5 separate regions of the Homo sapiens genome follow, and all the other regions are linked to region 3. The links are contacts of gene promoters, found by promoter capture Hi-C in blood cells and fetal thymus (Javierre and others, 2016). All regions are on one chromosome and are shown on one strand. The core of a region is centred on a gene start or on the middle of the fragment in contact, and the rest is flanking DNA. Distances in the headings are between cores, read along the strand shown. Region 1 overlaps LOC101928688 (a long non-coding RNA gene). Region 2 overlaps CDK13 (cyclin dependent kinase 13). Region 3 holds the start of YAE1-DT (YAE1 divergent transcript). Region 4 overlaps CDK13 (cyclin dependent kinase 13). Region 5 overlaps CDK13 (cyclin dependent kinase 13).

What was found. The method cuts DNA at HindIII sites, captures the fragments that hold promoters and counts their contacts. A CHiCAGO score of 5 or more calls a contact.
Region 1: a fragment that was not itself captured here is called in contact with the fragment with the promoter of YAE1-DT in region 3 in 1 of 17 cell types (erythroblasts); the score reaches 5.0 in erythroblasts.
Region 2: a contact is called between a fragment that was not itself captured here and the fragment with the promoter of YAE1-DT in region 3, in 5 of 17 cell types (naive CD4 T cells, total CD4 T cells, fetal thymus and 2 more). The highest score is 7.9, in naive CD4 T cells.
Region 4: a contact is called between a fragment that was not itself captured here and the fragment with the promoter of YAE1-DT in region 3, in 1 of 17 cell types (activated CD4 T cells). The highest score is 5.0, in activated CD4 T cells.
Region 5: a contact is called between a fragment that was not itself captured here and the fragment with the promoter of YAE1-DT in region 3, in 3 of 17 cell types (naive CD8 T cells, non-activated CD4 T cells and naive CD4 T cells). The highest score is 5.1, in naive CD8 T cells.

The regions. Positions count from the first base shown.
Region 1 is chr7:39,833,090-39,835,789 of GRCh38, forward strand. All of the region lies in intron 1 of LOC101928688 (a long non-coding RNA gene), which reads left to right. It also overlaps the pseudogene LOC100422519 and the pseudogene SSBP3P1. Among named protein-coding and RNA genes, the nearest start is that of LINC00265, 100 kb to the left of the region's middle. The HindIII fragment of the contact is 3,054 bases long and covers 1-2,700 here.
Region 2 is chr7:40,048,564-40,051,608 of GRCh38, forward strand. All of the region lies in intron 7 of CDK13 (cyclin dependent kinase 13), which reads left to right. Among named protein-coding and RNA genes, the nearest start is that of MPLKIP, 85 kb to the right of the region's middle. The HindIII fragment of the contact is 5,751 bases long and covers 1-3,045 here.
Region 3 is chr7:39,564,942-39,567,769 of GRCh38, forward strand. It overlaps YAE1-DT (YAE1 divergent transcript), which reads right to left and starts at 1,408. Exons shown (of 3, transcript NR_187579.1): 1 at 1,202-1,408. It overlaps YAE1 (YAE1 maturation factor of ABCE1), which reads left to right and starts at 1,463. Exons shown (of 3, transcript NM_020192.5): 1 at 1,463-1,606. The coding sequence starts at 1,478. It also overlaps the pseudogene TMX1P1. RefSeq lists an enhancer at 1,300-1,749. The HindIII fragment of the contact is 5,827 bases long and covers 1-2,176 here.
Region 4 is chr7:39,952,306-39,955,089 of GRCh38, forward strand. All of the region lies in intron 1 of CDK13 (cyclin dependent kinase 13), which reads left to right. Among named protein-coding and RNA genes, the nearest start is that of CDK13, 3.4 kb to the left of the region's middle. RefSeq lists an enhancer at 1-77. The HindIII fragment of the contact is 2,517 bases long and covers 103-2,619 here.
Region 5 is chr7:39,988,007-39,990,998 of GRCh38, forward strand. CDK13 (cyclin dependent kinase 13) reads left to right here. Exons shown (of 14, transcript NM_003718.5): 2 at 1-252. Among named protein-coding and RNA genes, the nearest start is that of CDK13, 39 kb to the left of the region's middle. The HindIII fragment of the contact is 2,813 bases long and covers 1-2,657 here.

The DNA of each region.
Region 1 (2,700 bases), core at 201-2,700, 270 kb after region 3:
TAGAATGAAATCTTTTCATTCAATATAAAATGTATATGACCATAATATTCCAAAAATATTAGCATATATTAAAACAAGTATATTTTATATCCTTGAAACAAATGTTGAAATATGTAATTGAGAGGGCGGCGGCGGCGGCGGCGGCGCTGGAGGCGCAGAGGGCGGCGCAGGCGGAGCCGGGCGGGCGCGCGAGCGAGCGGAGAGCGGGCGGCCGTGCGGGCGGCGGCGGCACCCCCAGGCCGAGCCGGCGCCGAAGGAGTTCCAGGGCGATGGGGCCGCGGCCCGGGCTGACGCTTTGACAGCTGGAAAGAGCGCGGAGCCAGCGCCTGGTGGGGAGGGAGGGGAGCGCGGCGAGGAGAGCGCCAGCGAGCGAGAGAGCGAGCGAGCGCCGGGGAGGGGGCCGGGAGCGAGGAGCAGCGCGGGAGAGCCGGAGCGGTAGCGGCGGCGGCGGCGAGGCTCGGCGCCCTCTTCCCTGCAAACCATGTTTGCCAAAGGCAGAGGCTCGGCGGTGCCCTCGGATGGGCAGGCTTGGGAAAAGTTAGCTTCATACGTCTACGAATATTTACTGCACGTAAGAGTACAGAAATCTGCAGAGACCTTCTTGTCGGAGATTCGATGGGAAAAAAACATCACGTTGGGAGAACCGCCTGGGTTTTTGCACTCGTGGTGGTGTGTATTTGGGGACCTTTACTGTGCAGCTCCTCAAAGGAGAGACACTTGTGAACATTCAAGTGAAGCAAAAGCCTTTCATGATTATAGTGCAGCAGCTGCCCCGAGCCCCGTGCTTGGCAACATTCCCCCCAACGATGGGATGCCGGGAGGCCCCATCCCGCCAGGTTTCTTTCAGGGTCCTCCGGGGTCACAGCCCTCGCCGCACGCACAGCCTCCACCTCACAATCCTAGCAGCATGATGGGACCCCACAGTCAGCCTTTTATGTCACCGCGATACGTAGGCGGCCCCGGGCCCCCGATCAGAATGGGAAACCAGCCTCCGGGAGGAGTTCTTGGGACACAGCCATTGCTGCCCAATTCTATGGATCCCACACGACAACAAGGCCACCCCAACATGGGAGGATCAATGCAGAGAATGAACCCTCCCCGAGGCATGGGGCCCATGGGTCCCGGCCCACAGAATTACGGCAGCGGCATGAGACCACCACCCAACTCCCTCGGCCCGCCATGCCCGGGATTAACATGGGCCCGGGAGCTGGCAGACCCTGGCCCAATCCTAACAGTGCTAACTCAATTCCATATTCCTCCTCATCACCTGGTACCTATGTGGGACCCCCGGTGGTGGCGGCCCTCCAGGAACACCCATTATGCCCAGTCCCGCAGATTCAACAAATTCCAGTGACAACATCTACACAATGACCTGGCGGCAGGTCCAACTTCCCGATGGGTCCCGGCTCGGACGGTCCGATGGGCGGCATGGGTGGCATGGAGCCACACCACATGAATGGATCATTAGGGTCAGGCGACATAGACGGACTTCCAAAAAATTCTCCTAACAACATAAGTGGCATTAGCAATCCTCCAGGCACCCCTCGAGATGACGGCGAGCTAGGAGGGAGCTTCCTCCACTCCTTTCAGAATGACAATTATTCTCCAAGCATGACGATGAGTGTGTGATCCCCCCTTCTCCGAGACGCTGAGAGAGCCGGCATTGCAGGCGGGAAGACGCCAGAAATTATGCAAGAAGTGAGGTGTTATTATCCAGGAGCTGGTGGGGAGGGCATCTCCCTGCTCCCCTAAACCCCCTCCCACCCCATCCACGCCCCCTACCTTTCCCAATTTTAGTTTCATGCAATAAAAAGGCCAAACTTTTTATTCCATAAAACATGAAGGACAAAACTCTCAAAAAAAAAAAAAGAAATATGTAATTGAGAAATTGAATCTCATGTTATTTCCCTCCTCTTCTTTCCATTTTCAAAATTTCAGACTTGTATATAGGTTTTCATGAGTTAATTCTACCAGTGCAGTATATTTTACAAATATTTCTTTTCTTAACACCATATGCTTTTCCCAAGTAAGGTCACCCACTCCTACACCCTGAGTGCCTCAATTTGACTTGTCCCACACTGAAGACATTGTCCTTGACCTTCTCCTGACTTTTTGTAATCTGCTCTGTCATCTGATTTTCCCATCCTAGGAAGTAACATCTAGTAAATAGAACTGAAACATTGAAACAGGAAAAATCTCGCATTCCAGCACTCCCTCAAATCACCAATCCAGTCACTCACAAGTTATACTTTTTCCACCTGCTTACCGTTTTTCATATCTCACTGCTATAATTCACTTTGACCCATCATTTTGAAATACTCTTGTCTAGTTTTGTCCCTCCCCCATCCCATGCCATGTTCAGTTATCATTACAATGCTGCCAGGGTGGCCTTTCTAAGATATTTTATGATGCTGTAACTCATCTGTTTATGAGTGGATCCCCATTACATGATGGGGAAGTTCACATTCTAGCATGGCACATATCTTTTGTGGTTTGGCCTGATTCTCCCATTTTATTTCTCCATCTCACTCCCTCTGACTAGGTTCCAGTTTTCCTGCATTACTTTAACACCCCTCATTTGCCATGTCGTTTCTCATTTCATGCCTCATACCTTTGCTCATACTGCCCTGTCTAGAAACCCTTCACATCCTCACTCTCTGCACTTTGTCCTTCTTTCAAAATAGGCCCTATCTTTGCAGC
Region 2 (3,045 bases), core at 323-2,822, 480 kb after region 3:
TGTGTATATATATATCTGAAATAATATAGTTAAAGAATTTTAAAATTATTTTATGACAATTTTGTCATTTCTTTAATATCACCATAATTTAATATAATGAAACATCAGTTGATTGCAGTCTTAGGAATAGATGTTTACTTTCATTTAATCTTTGCTTTTTTTGGTTAAAGCAATAAACAAAAACTCTCGTTTGAATTTTTCAGAGTAAAAAGTCTTATTTTGTTAAATCTTGCAGCGCCTGTGACATAATTCTGGAAAGTATTTTCCTTATATAGTGTTCTAGAGTAGAGGTTTATAAGTGATATGTTTTGGATCTATTCAAGTTCCATGAAACCCCTCAGAAAGTGTGCAGTGGGCCAGGCGCAGTGGCTCATGCTTGTACAAATCCCAGCACTTTGGGAGGCAGAGGCAGGCGGATCACTTGAGGGTCAGCACTTGGAGACCAGCCTGGCCAACATGGTGAAACCCCATCTCTACTAAAAATAGCTGGGCTTGGTGGTGCACGCCTATAATCCCAGCTACTTGGGAGGCTGAGGCACAAGAATCACTTAAACCTGGGAGGCGGAGGTTGCAGTGAGCCGAGATCACACCACTGTACTCCAGCAAGACTGTCTCCAAAAAAAAAAAAAAAAAAAAAAAAAAAGGAAGGGAGGAGAGAGGGAAGGAGGAAGGAAGGAAAGAGAGACAGAGAGAGAGAAAGGAAAGAAAGTGTTCTGTGGATGGGGTTTTGTGATTGGACCTCCAGTCCTCTGTACCAACTTTCACCAGAGTTACTTGGTTTTTATTTGTTTTAACTACTACACTTAAAATTAACATTTTATTTTAGGAAAGGGTTGTATGAGTGTTTTTTTTTTTTTGAAGTTTAAAACTGTTTTAAAGCTCAAAAGCTATGTCCCTCATTTTGCATTTGAGCGAATTGAGACCCAGAAAGGGCTGAGTTAGTTTCCTTTTTTAATTTTGAAATATGTATACATTGTGAAATGGCTACATTGAGCTAATTACTATGCATTACCCCACATTTTTTTTGTGTGTGCCAACACTTAAAAATCTACTCTCAACAATTTTCAAGAATACATTGTTATTAAGTGTAGCTGCCAAGTTGTACAATAAATCTCTTGAATTTACTTTTGTCTAACTGAACTTTTATATCCTTAGGCCAGCATCTTCCCCCCATACTCCCTATGCCCCGTATCTGGTAACTACCAGCTCTACTCTCTACCTCTATGAGTTGAGGTTTTTTAGATTTCACGTATAAGTGAAATGATGAGTTATTTGTCTTTATGTGCCTGCCTTATTCCACTTAACACAATGCGCTTCACGTTCATCCATGTTGTCATAAATGACAGGATTTCCTTGTTTTTTAAAGACTTGAATAGTATTTCATTGTGCGTATATGCCACATTTTCCTTTTTTTGTTTTGTTTTGTTTTTTTTTGAGACAGAGTCTCACTCTGTCGCCCAGGCTGGAGTGCAGTGGTGCAATCTCAGCTCACTACAGCCTCCACCTCCGGGGTCCAAGTGATTCTCCTGCCTCAGCCTACCGATAGCTGGGATTACAGGCCACATTTTCTTTATCCGTCCATCTCTTAGTGGACGCTTAACGTTGATTCCCTATCCTGGCTATTGTGAAGGGTTGAGTGACTTTAAAGATCAAAAAATGTTAGCAGAGCCAAGGGTGTATAGTTAAGTTTTCAATTCGCAATTTTTTATTCTTTCTGTCATATATAATAGTGCCTCTTGGTAGAAGTTGAAAGGAAAAATTGGTCTGAACTGTACTTAATCCAAAACTTAACTTGAAGTATATTTTTTTCTTCTGCTGTTTAAGAAGCATATGTATTTTATTTTATTTGAGACAGTCTCACTCTGTCGCCTAGGCTGGAGTGCAGTGGCGTGATCTCAGCTCACTGCAACCTCCGCCTCCCGGGTTCTAGCGATTCTCCAGCTTCAGCCTTCCGAGTAGCTGGGACTGCAGATGTGCACCACCATGCCCAGCTAATTTTTGTATTTTTTAGTAGAGACAGGATTTCGCCATGTTGGCCAGGCTGGTCTCGAACTCGTGACCACAAGTGATCTGCCTGCCTTGGCCTCCCAAAGTGCTGGGATTATAGGCATGAGCCACCATGCCCAGCTGAGAAGCATATATATGACTAAATTAATGTGGCTATTATTTTGGGCAAGTTCTGGTTAATTAAGAATTCTATCTGCTAAGCTGGTTGAGATTTCACTGTAGTTAGATTTTGCTTAATATAAGTTTGTGTCTGTTGTTAATTATGTAAATCCTTTCCTATGGAATGGAAAACAGCTAATTACCATTTTAATCTAATAGATTCTTGTTATGCAGATATTTGTGCACATTTGGAATAGATATGTTTCAGAAAAGCTGATTATAAAGCCAAATTTTATATTATGAGGCTTAATTTTCCCATTGATTTTCATTTTAAAATATAATTTGGGTTCCATTGGAGTGCCGGGGTGTGGTGTGTTCACTGGGCCATGGTCCCTGTTGCCCTGCTGGATTGATGTAGAAATTTTGAGTTTAGAGAACCAGAGTTTTAAAGTCCCATAACTTTGCATCTTCAGGTAATGTATACTGAATTTTTCTGCTCAGTTAAATGTATAAGAGGAAAATTCAGTCTGTCATTTTGTTTTAAGAGCAAATATCCTATCATTATGGGGTTTATATACTCCTTTAAAACTTCTCTTTTTTTTTTTTAAGAGAATAATTCTGATTTCTTCAGAATCTCCTGGAGAGGTAGTATTAATATAATGGAATACCTTTAAAATACATATGTTGCTCTAGTGAACCTTAATAACTGTGATTTTAAAAGAAATCTACCTTTAACAGATTTATTGTATTGTCTCAAATTTTCTAGATATTTTTTGAGATAAATATGTAACAAATGATTTTTCATTCATATTTCTGCTTCATTATAAACAGAGAGCCAGGTAGGGCCTTACTGTAATACTCATGCAAGTATAAAGTCACTTTGAAGTGTTTTTATTTTCTAAGTAGTTAATATAGATCGAATAACTGAATTGTTCAAGA
Region 3 (2,828 bases), core at 158-2,657:
ATAGTAGATATTTAATGTCCAATTTTTCTATGGTAATTAGTCTCTTCATGACCCTACTTCTTGGGTCAATTTTCTTAGAAAGTCATTCATATCTCTCAGGTTTTCGAATGTGTTGCTTTTGAGTTTTAGTTGGTAATTAATATTTTAATCTCCTTCTGCATCAGTGGTTATCTCATTTCTCATTCTTGTATAATTTTGTTCTCTTTAAAAATCTGGGTCATGACAGGATTATCTATCTTATTGGTGTTTTCAAATAATACAAAAAAGAATTGGACTTACTTATTCAAGTTTTGAGGTTTTCTATTTTATTGTTATCTTTATTGCTTACTACCATTTTGTTCCTAATAAAGATATATACATATATCTTAATATATTTACATTAATAAAATATACATATTTGTAGTTTATATATTTTTTATTTGTGGGATGCCAAATTCTCTCTGGAGATTTAAAATTGTAACATGAACCAACCACCCACTCCCACACACTTATGGTTCTTACTGTGCTTATTTAAAAATTTTTTTCATAGCATTTATTTATGATCTTCTAACAAACCTTATGCTACTTATATATTGCTTATTGTTTATCCTGTCAATTTTACATGACTATAAAGTCGACAAGGGTTGGGAACTTCCGTCTGTTCATTGATGTATCCCAAAGCCTGGAATGGTACCTGACACAAGGTAGGTGTTCAATAAATTGTTAGATAAATAAATCATAATCACATGACTCATTTTACCCAGGCAAAGGGCAAAACAGGAATACTACAGGTATTCATTCATTCACCAAAATAGAGTTCAGCATTTACTATGTGTCAGAACTGTCCTGGTGTTGACACAAGTCCCCACCCTTACCAAACCAACTGTTTACTTTAGGGCATATGAACAGGAATGGGAGGCAGAAGGATATCGTGAATCAATGAAAAAATATATTGGCTTTACAAATGTACTCTATATTTCTTACTAATCTCAAATTGGCTACAGTACCTCGCTTTTCGATCCTATTTTCCTTTACTCCACAATCCTAACAGTTTAAAATGTCGGCTTGTCAAATCCTTTAAATGCAGAGGAGATTCCAAAAGAGACAAAGTATTTGGGTGGTAATCGCCCATCGACTTTACTACCTTTAATAGTTTACCAAAGCGCGCGAATGTAAAACCCAGACCATGGTAAGACTACGGTGGAAATGGAAGGTGTCTCACTGAGGGTCCCGGTTGCCTTCTGCAAAGGTGAAGGTCGTGCCGGCCACGCGAGGAAATCTGCCTCGCTCACAACTCACAGGCACACATCAACACTGCCAACCGAGGGAGCCCAAAATCACCGCAAGCGAAAGGCTCCGGCGGCGGCCACGGGCCACAGCCCGCCTCCGCGCACACGCAGCCCCTCCCGAGCCTCCACTCGCCGTCTTCGCCCCGCCTTCGGACCGGAAGGAGTTGTTGGCGCTTCCGGTGGCCTGCGACCCCGTAATTGCCTCGGTGATGTCGTGGGTTCAAGCAGCCTCCTTGATCCAGGGCCCTGGAGACAAAGGGGACGTGTTTGACGAAGAAGCAGACGAGTCGCTCCTGGCGCAGCGGGAATGGCAGAGTAACATGCAAAGACGAGTCAAAGTAAACGTGGTGTGGACGGCGCGGGGTGCTGGGTTGTGGGAAGAGGCGCGGAGTTGTGAAGAAGCTGGGTCCAGAGTGGCCCCAGCCTGGCCCGGCGCTGCTCTCTTTATCCCTAGGGACCCGGTCCGACCCGCGTCTTGCTAGGATTTCTCGATGGTTACTTGAAAGCGTGTAAAACAACAAGACGCATTCTTTGAGCGCCTACGGGATGCGTTAGAAACTGAGGACCGACCAAAATTAACTATGTGTAGACTTTGAACAGTTTGCAGTTTGTTGAGGATCACAGGGAAAGGAGCTGGAGAGAAACATACACTATACTTATTATGGCTGTCAAAGGACGTGTACGCAGTTTATATGGGTGGCTTGAATGGGTAGGGAGCCTAAAGTTAAGGAGTAGTGTTAATCAAGACATATTGAAAAGATGAACTAAAGCATGCTGTCAGAGGACAATAAGGGAAAGCTAATGTGGAATACTGGTGTCTAGGTAAGGGAATATTAAAGTTGGTTTCTTTTTTATTTGTTAGATGTAACTTTTTCATCTCTAATTTGTCTCACTATTCATTGAAACTAAGCTTAATTTCTGTGTGCAGCCTACAGTATTTCTGGGTGAGGACCAAATAGTGAGGTCCACATCCACTTAATATATTTGCCAACCATTAAATTGCCGCTAAAGCTGCAGTTGGGAATCTGCCCTGTTTAATATTTCAGTAGAGTGGTATTTGCTTAGCCCAAAAACCATGTTGTCAATTACAAAAATGCTTTATGTGAGACTGGGGCCACACTAATAAGTATTGAGCATCTTTTAAATGCTGTGGCACCGTGAGAGATGCAGAACGAAATCACTACCCACAGAGCTTTTGCAGGTTAGTTGAATTTAGGTATTATGCAAAATTTCTGAAACCAGACTTCTCATCATCCTTTTTTTTTTAAACAATTTCCTCTCTCTGCTTTGCCCTGTCTCCTCACCCACCCACACCATTCCAATCAGTTGGCAAGAGCCCAGATGTGTAATTTTCCATATATCCTTTTTGTGAAGACATTGCTAATGCTGGGTTTTGTTTTTTGTTTTTTGGTTTTTTTAATCTTTTGAAGTGATTAGAAAAGTTTATTTTGTGCTTAGGATATTTTTCTAAGGCATCACAGGTTACACATCCAAACTCTTCAATGGTATAATATTTTATATTCTAAAGGAGAGACCTTTAAAGAAAACTTGTACATTATG
Region 4 (2,784 bases), core at 111-2,610, 390 kb after region 3:
TGATGTCAGAGTTAGATGTGGATTGCAGATGTTTCTTATGATTATTACAGAAATGGGAGAAGCAGCCTTTCTGTAAAGTTTATTCTTTTAGTATGTTAAAAAAGCTTAGGTGGAAGCCGATAGTTCTGAATACTGAAGTTAAAAAAGGTATCTATTTAGTGATATTCTTGTGTGGGATAGTTTTTACCTGATCTTTCAAAGTCATAATTATAGAAGGTAGAAAAAATGACAAGACTGTGGTTTCTTTGTTGGTTTGTGATGACACCCAGTTGCTAATAACATTATAAATCTGGGTGGTGTAACCTAGTGTAACCAAGTGAATGGCTGAGTACATTCTTATACTATTATAAGCCTGTAACTGCTTACTTTAAAAGCTAAGTAGACTTTTTCTTAGATATATACCCGAAGGATAAAAACACAATATAACTAGACCTTTAAATATCAGGATCTTTGTCCAGAAATCTTTAAAAGGTGTAATTTAATTTAATGAAATTGGAGTAAAACTTTTCTGTAGCTTTCTTGCCTTTTTTGTTATATAATATTCTTTTTAAAAAGTGTGCCTTAAAATATACTTATCCACTAAGCAAAGTGCATTAAAAACAACTTTCGAGTATTTTATGGGTTCTTATATTCCTTGAGATGTTTGGACATTCCAGACCTTATAGTGTAGAGTATTGCAAAATGACATTTGTATCAGTTTTTCCTCCTGGGTTTCAGTAATGGCAAGTGGATGTACAGTACCTCTAAGTATGGGTTATGTGGAATCTCAACATAATACGAATATGCATCTGCAAAATTAGCAGACCTTTTTGAAGTATCACCATAATAAATGTAAAGGTGTGATGTTTATAGAGATCTGAGCGTGAGTTTGTCTTTAAGCCAAAAAAGTTCTATAAATTGCTTCACTCTTAAAGAGTGTTGAAGCATACTTAAAATGTTAGTTGATACCTTAGCGAAGAATTGAAAAACTCATTCATCAAAATTAGCCATTGTATCTTGTAAGACTTTGTATGTTACTTTTAACTATAATACTTTGCCAAAGGGTTTGCAGTTTTTGCAGTTGAATTTGTTTTGCAAACTGGTTGGTTGAAGTTTCAGCACTTGAACAATTTAAAGTGCTTGATGCAATTTTAAGAATGGATTTTGTACTTATCAGGTTTTTTAGTTGCTGGATACTTCAGCGAGATCCTTTATTGTATAATAGTGGTATGTATTTTTTATATACATATATGAAATATATAATCGTGGTATGTATGACTAGGACTATTCATATTTAGCAAGTATTTTTTGACCCTGTATTGTATGCCATATACTGTTTTAGGTATTGGGATGTAGCAGGAAAGAAAAAGTTACTTGCCCTCATAGAGCTTGCATTCTGGAGGACCGTTCAACACATAATCTTTTCATGGTGTTTACATTGACCACCAGTATTTCTAAAGAGTTGAATTTGGAAGGAACTTTAGGGTGTCTTGGCTAACATTGCTGACAGATGGCCATTTGGTATGTGCCTGAAATACATCTAGAGGTGGGAAGCACGTTAGTTAGAGGCAACCTGTTCACTAGATTTGGGACTTGAGTGTTTTAGCAAGATCCTTGAAGACTCAGTTTCCTAAACTGTAACAGGGAAACACTTGTTTTTCTGGATTATTTCAAGGATTAAGTGAAAATTTATCTTTTTAAAGCATGCAGCCTTACAGAAATATTTAAGGTCGTTGAATTATTCAATATCCCAAATTGTTAGAATTCTTCATATTGTGACCAAAATCCACCTTCGAACCATTGCTCCAAGTTTAACCCTTTGGAATGGTACAGAGCACACGTGTATGCTAACCCTTTAAAATATAAAGACAGTTGTCATGATTTCTGAGTCTTCTAGACTAAAAAACTCATACGGTTTTCAGATTTTTCACATTATATCTAGTTTGTCAAATGTCCAGCTTAAAACATAGGGCCTAGAATTAATAGCTAAAATAGTTGATTGGAAAAATCTAAAGATTTTAAAATATAATAAGTGTATTGTTACTTTTTAGGAACGGTTAATTGAACTCACTTGTACAGATTAATGGAAAAGTTTTATTTATTTTCAGAATTTATTACTTGTGGTAAGTGGCCCATGTTCTTTAATGAATGGACTGCTGTGAGTTCCATGAAGGCAACTGGGCTGTCTTATCCATCATTGTATTTCTAGTGCTCAGCACTGTATCTGGCACAAGTACACTCTTAATAAATGTTGAATAGGTGTAAATGAAGGGATGCTGGAGTTTACTGAACATACAAAATATTAATGTGGGCTTTGTATTACAAACTTCATTCAAAATATTTAATACAGACCATGTGTAATGCTGTAAGAAACAGTGTAATATTTCCCCAGCCTATGCAGAACTTACATATTAATGAATTGTCAGCGTAGATATTTTCAAGGAAATGCATACACATTCAAAATAGTATTGAAATCGTGGTATGAAGATGAAAAACAATTTTAAATAAGCTGAAAATAGAGATAGGGTTTCACCATGTTGCCCAGGCTGGTGTCAAACTCCTGGGCTCAAATGATCCACCTGCTGCATCAGCCTCCCAAAGTCCAGGGATTACAGGTGTGAGCCACCACATCCAGCCTGAAGCTTTTTTTGATGTCAGATAAATAAATCCTTTTCATTTTAGTGATTTCCACTTCACAACTTGTTCTTTGTCTTCATTTGAATCTTCAGTCCTCGGCTCATGCATTTCTTTTCATCAGTTCCCTCTTAGCTTTACTTTTTCCCCTGTATAATCTGTTTGCCGTAT
Region 5 (2,992 bases), core at 1-2,500, 420 kb after region 3:
GCCACCTCTTCAGGTAACGAAGGTGGAAAATAATTTGATTGTAGATAAAGCCACCAAGAAAGCAGTCATAGTTGGAAAGGAGAGTAAATCTGCTGCTACAAAGGAGGAATCAGTATCTCTTAAAGAGAAAACCAAACCACTTACACCAAGCATAGGAGCCAAGGAGAAGGAGCAACATGTAGCTTTAGTCACCTCTACATTACCACCGTTACCTTTGCCTCCCATGCTGCCTGAAGATAAAGAAGCTGATAGGTAAGTGCAAAAAGTATTTGTCAATAACTGTTCAAAGAAAAAATGTAAGTCTGAAGTGAGAAATGAGTTGACCTCCCCTAACCCCCTCGAAACAACTTTAGTGAAAAAGACTACAAGTGAATGAATTTTCTTGATTATATGCATCTTAAAATGAAGCACATTGCATACAAGATGGCAAAATTAAAGTTTATACTAAGACATTCAGGGAAAAATTGCCATTGTCTTGGGATACAATGAATATTTCAATATGATTTTGGGTATTAGAAATGCCAGTATTCTCTTTGGTTTAGTTTTCCTTGATGATGTAATCAGAGACAGAATATTTTATGAATAAGTTGGCCCTAGTTAATATACATCTCACAAGCATTTGTCTCATTTATTTCTAAGTTTCTTCAGTGGCCTTGTAAATTTATCACTGTCAGTGATTTTGTTATCACTTTTTAGTTTAGTCTTTTCTTAACTCTTTTAATTAAAAAAAAATTTTTTTAGCCTGTCTTGCAGTTGGGATTAATCACATTATATTATAGAAAACTCATAATGTGGCCAGGCCTGGTGGCTCAAGCCTGTAATCCCAGCACTTTGGGAGGCCGAGGCGGGTGGATCACCTGAGGTCAGGAGTTCAAGACCAGCCTGGCCAACATGGTGAAACCCCGTCTCTACTAAAAATACAAAAAACTTAGCTGGGCGCAGTGGCAGGTGCCTGTAATCCCAGCTACTAGGGAGGCTGAGGCAGGAGAGTCACTTGAACCTGGGAGGTGGAGGTTGCAGTGAGCCGAGATTGCGCCACTGCACTCCAGCCTGGGTGACACAGTAAGACCGTGTCTCACCAAAAAAAAAAAAAAAAAAAAAAAAAGAGAAAATTCATAATGTGATTATGCTTTCCTTTAAGATGTTTAAAAATTTCTATTATGAACAGTGAGGGTATGGCTTATTTTTTATTGAGAAACATATTCTTAAGAGGCAGTAAAAATACAGCTAAGAATGTTTCTTTTTTGTATCCTAGTGTAGAAAAATTAGACTTGTGTGGTTTATCTGCCTGTTACACCACCTAGCTGTTTTTATTTTTATGAAGAAATTAGAGCTTCCACCCCCTCCCACTCCCCATTAAAAAGCAACTATATGAGTAGTTTTCCTAGCTGATTTTTTTTTTTTTAATAGATTTTGAAGTCAGATGGATAAAAATGCCATGTGGACAAGTGCTTACTTTGGCATTATGAAAATTTTATAATTTAACACAAACAAAAGTGAAATAATAATTCTTGAGTTTCATGCCCTTTGAGGTGCCTTTTTAAAAATAATCAAAATGTTGTTGGGAGACCCCATCCAATTTAATCGGGTGTTATTTAATTATACTACTATAATTGTTGTATTTGCAGGTTTGACTGTTCTCAGGGAACGCTGAAGGTTCATAACAGTAGTGATTTGTAATTGTGAGGCTTGAGTGTGGAATTGAATTACTTCATTAGAGAGTAACCAGTTACTGAGAATCCATGTTTCATTGAGACTGGTGTTTCTCTACTTTATCCTTTTTTTTTTTTTTTTGAGACGGAGTCTTGCTCTTTTGCCGAGGCTGGAGTGCAGTGGCGCTCTCTCGGCTCACTGCAAGCTCTGCCTCCTGGGTTCATGCCGTTCTTCTGCCTCAGCCTCCCGAGTAGGTGGGACTACAGGCGCCCGCCACCAAGCCCGGCTAATTTTTTGTATTTTTAGTAGAGACGGGGGGCTTCACCATGTTAGCCAGGATGGTCTCGATCTCCTGACCTCACGATCCACTTGCCTTGGCCTCCCAAAGTGTTGGGATTACAGGCGTGAGCCACTGCGCCCAACCTACTTTATTCTTCATGTATGCTTTAGGAGTAAATTTTTACTAGGTTATTTTCAAGAACTCTTACGTATACATGTGAGTGCTTAATGAGGATATTCCTTATGCATCTGTCTTTAATTAGTTGGTGGCACATTTAATTCTTGTTCATTACTTTTTTTTTTTGATTCACCTTTTCTGTCTCCTCTCCTTTTCCCCCTTTTTGTTGTCTCTTCTTTCTTTGAATGTGTTTGTATGTTTAATGGATACGGAAGTTTCTAAAGATTCATGAGCACTTCTACTACATGTCTGTGTGGCCAAAGATTAACTCATCACCAATGGAACTTTCCTTATTTTGATGTCTATAATTTACCTAAATGTATGTACTAACTACATATGAGGAAGAGACTTGATATTGTTTTACTTTTTATAAAAGTTTTTAGGTGATTAAATAAAAATGTATTGTAAAAAGAAATGGTTAGAAGTGATTACTTTTGGAAATAAATGGGCGCTGAAGGGAATGGATGGCACAGGAGACTTATTTTATATTTACTATTTATAATACTGTTAGAAGTACAATAACATTTGTTAGTGGGCTGTAGTAGAAAGCTTAGTTTTTAGTGCCAGTTGTACCTCTTACTACTCTCATGAGTTAATCTTTCTGTGCCCCAGTCCATAGTTCTATTCATGGGTGAAAATATTTACAGTTTAACCTCACAGATTAGTTGTAAAGATTAAATTAGTTGATGGACTGAATTTTGCAAGCTGTAAAGTGTTATGCATCTCAGTTATTGTAATTAGTCATAGTATAAATCAGCACTGCTGGAAATACTACAGATATTTAAAACTGCTTTAGATTATTGAAAAAAAGTAAAAATTACAAAATATGATTTACATTGTATAATATATAAACCATTATATGTGTAACATGTAGATCCGGTG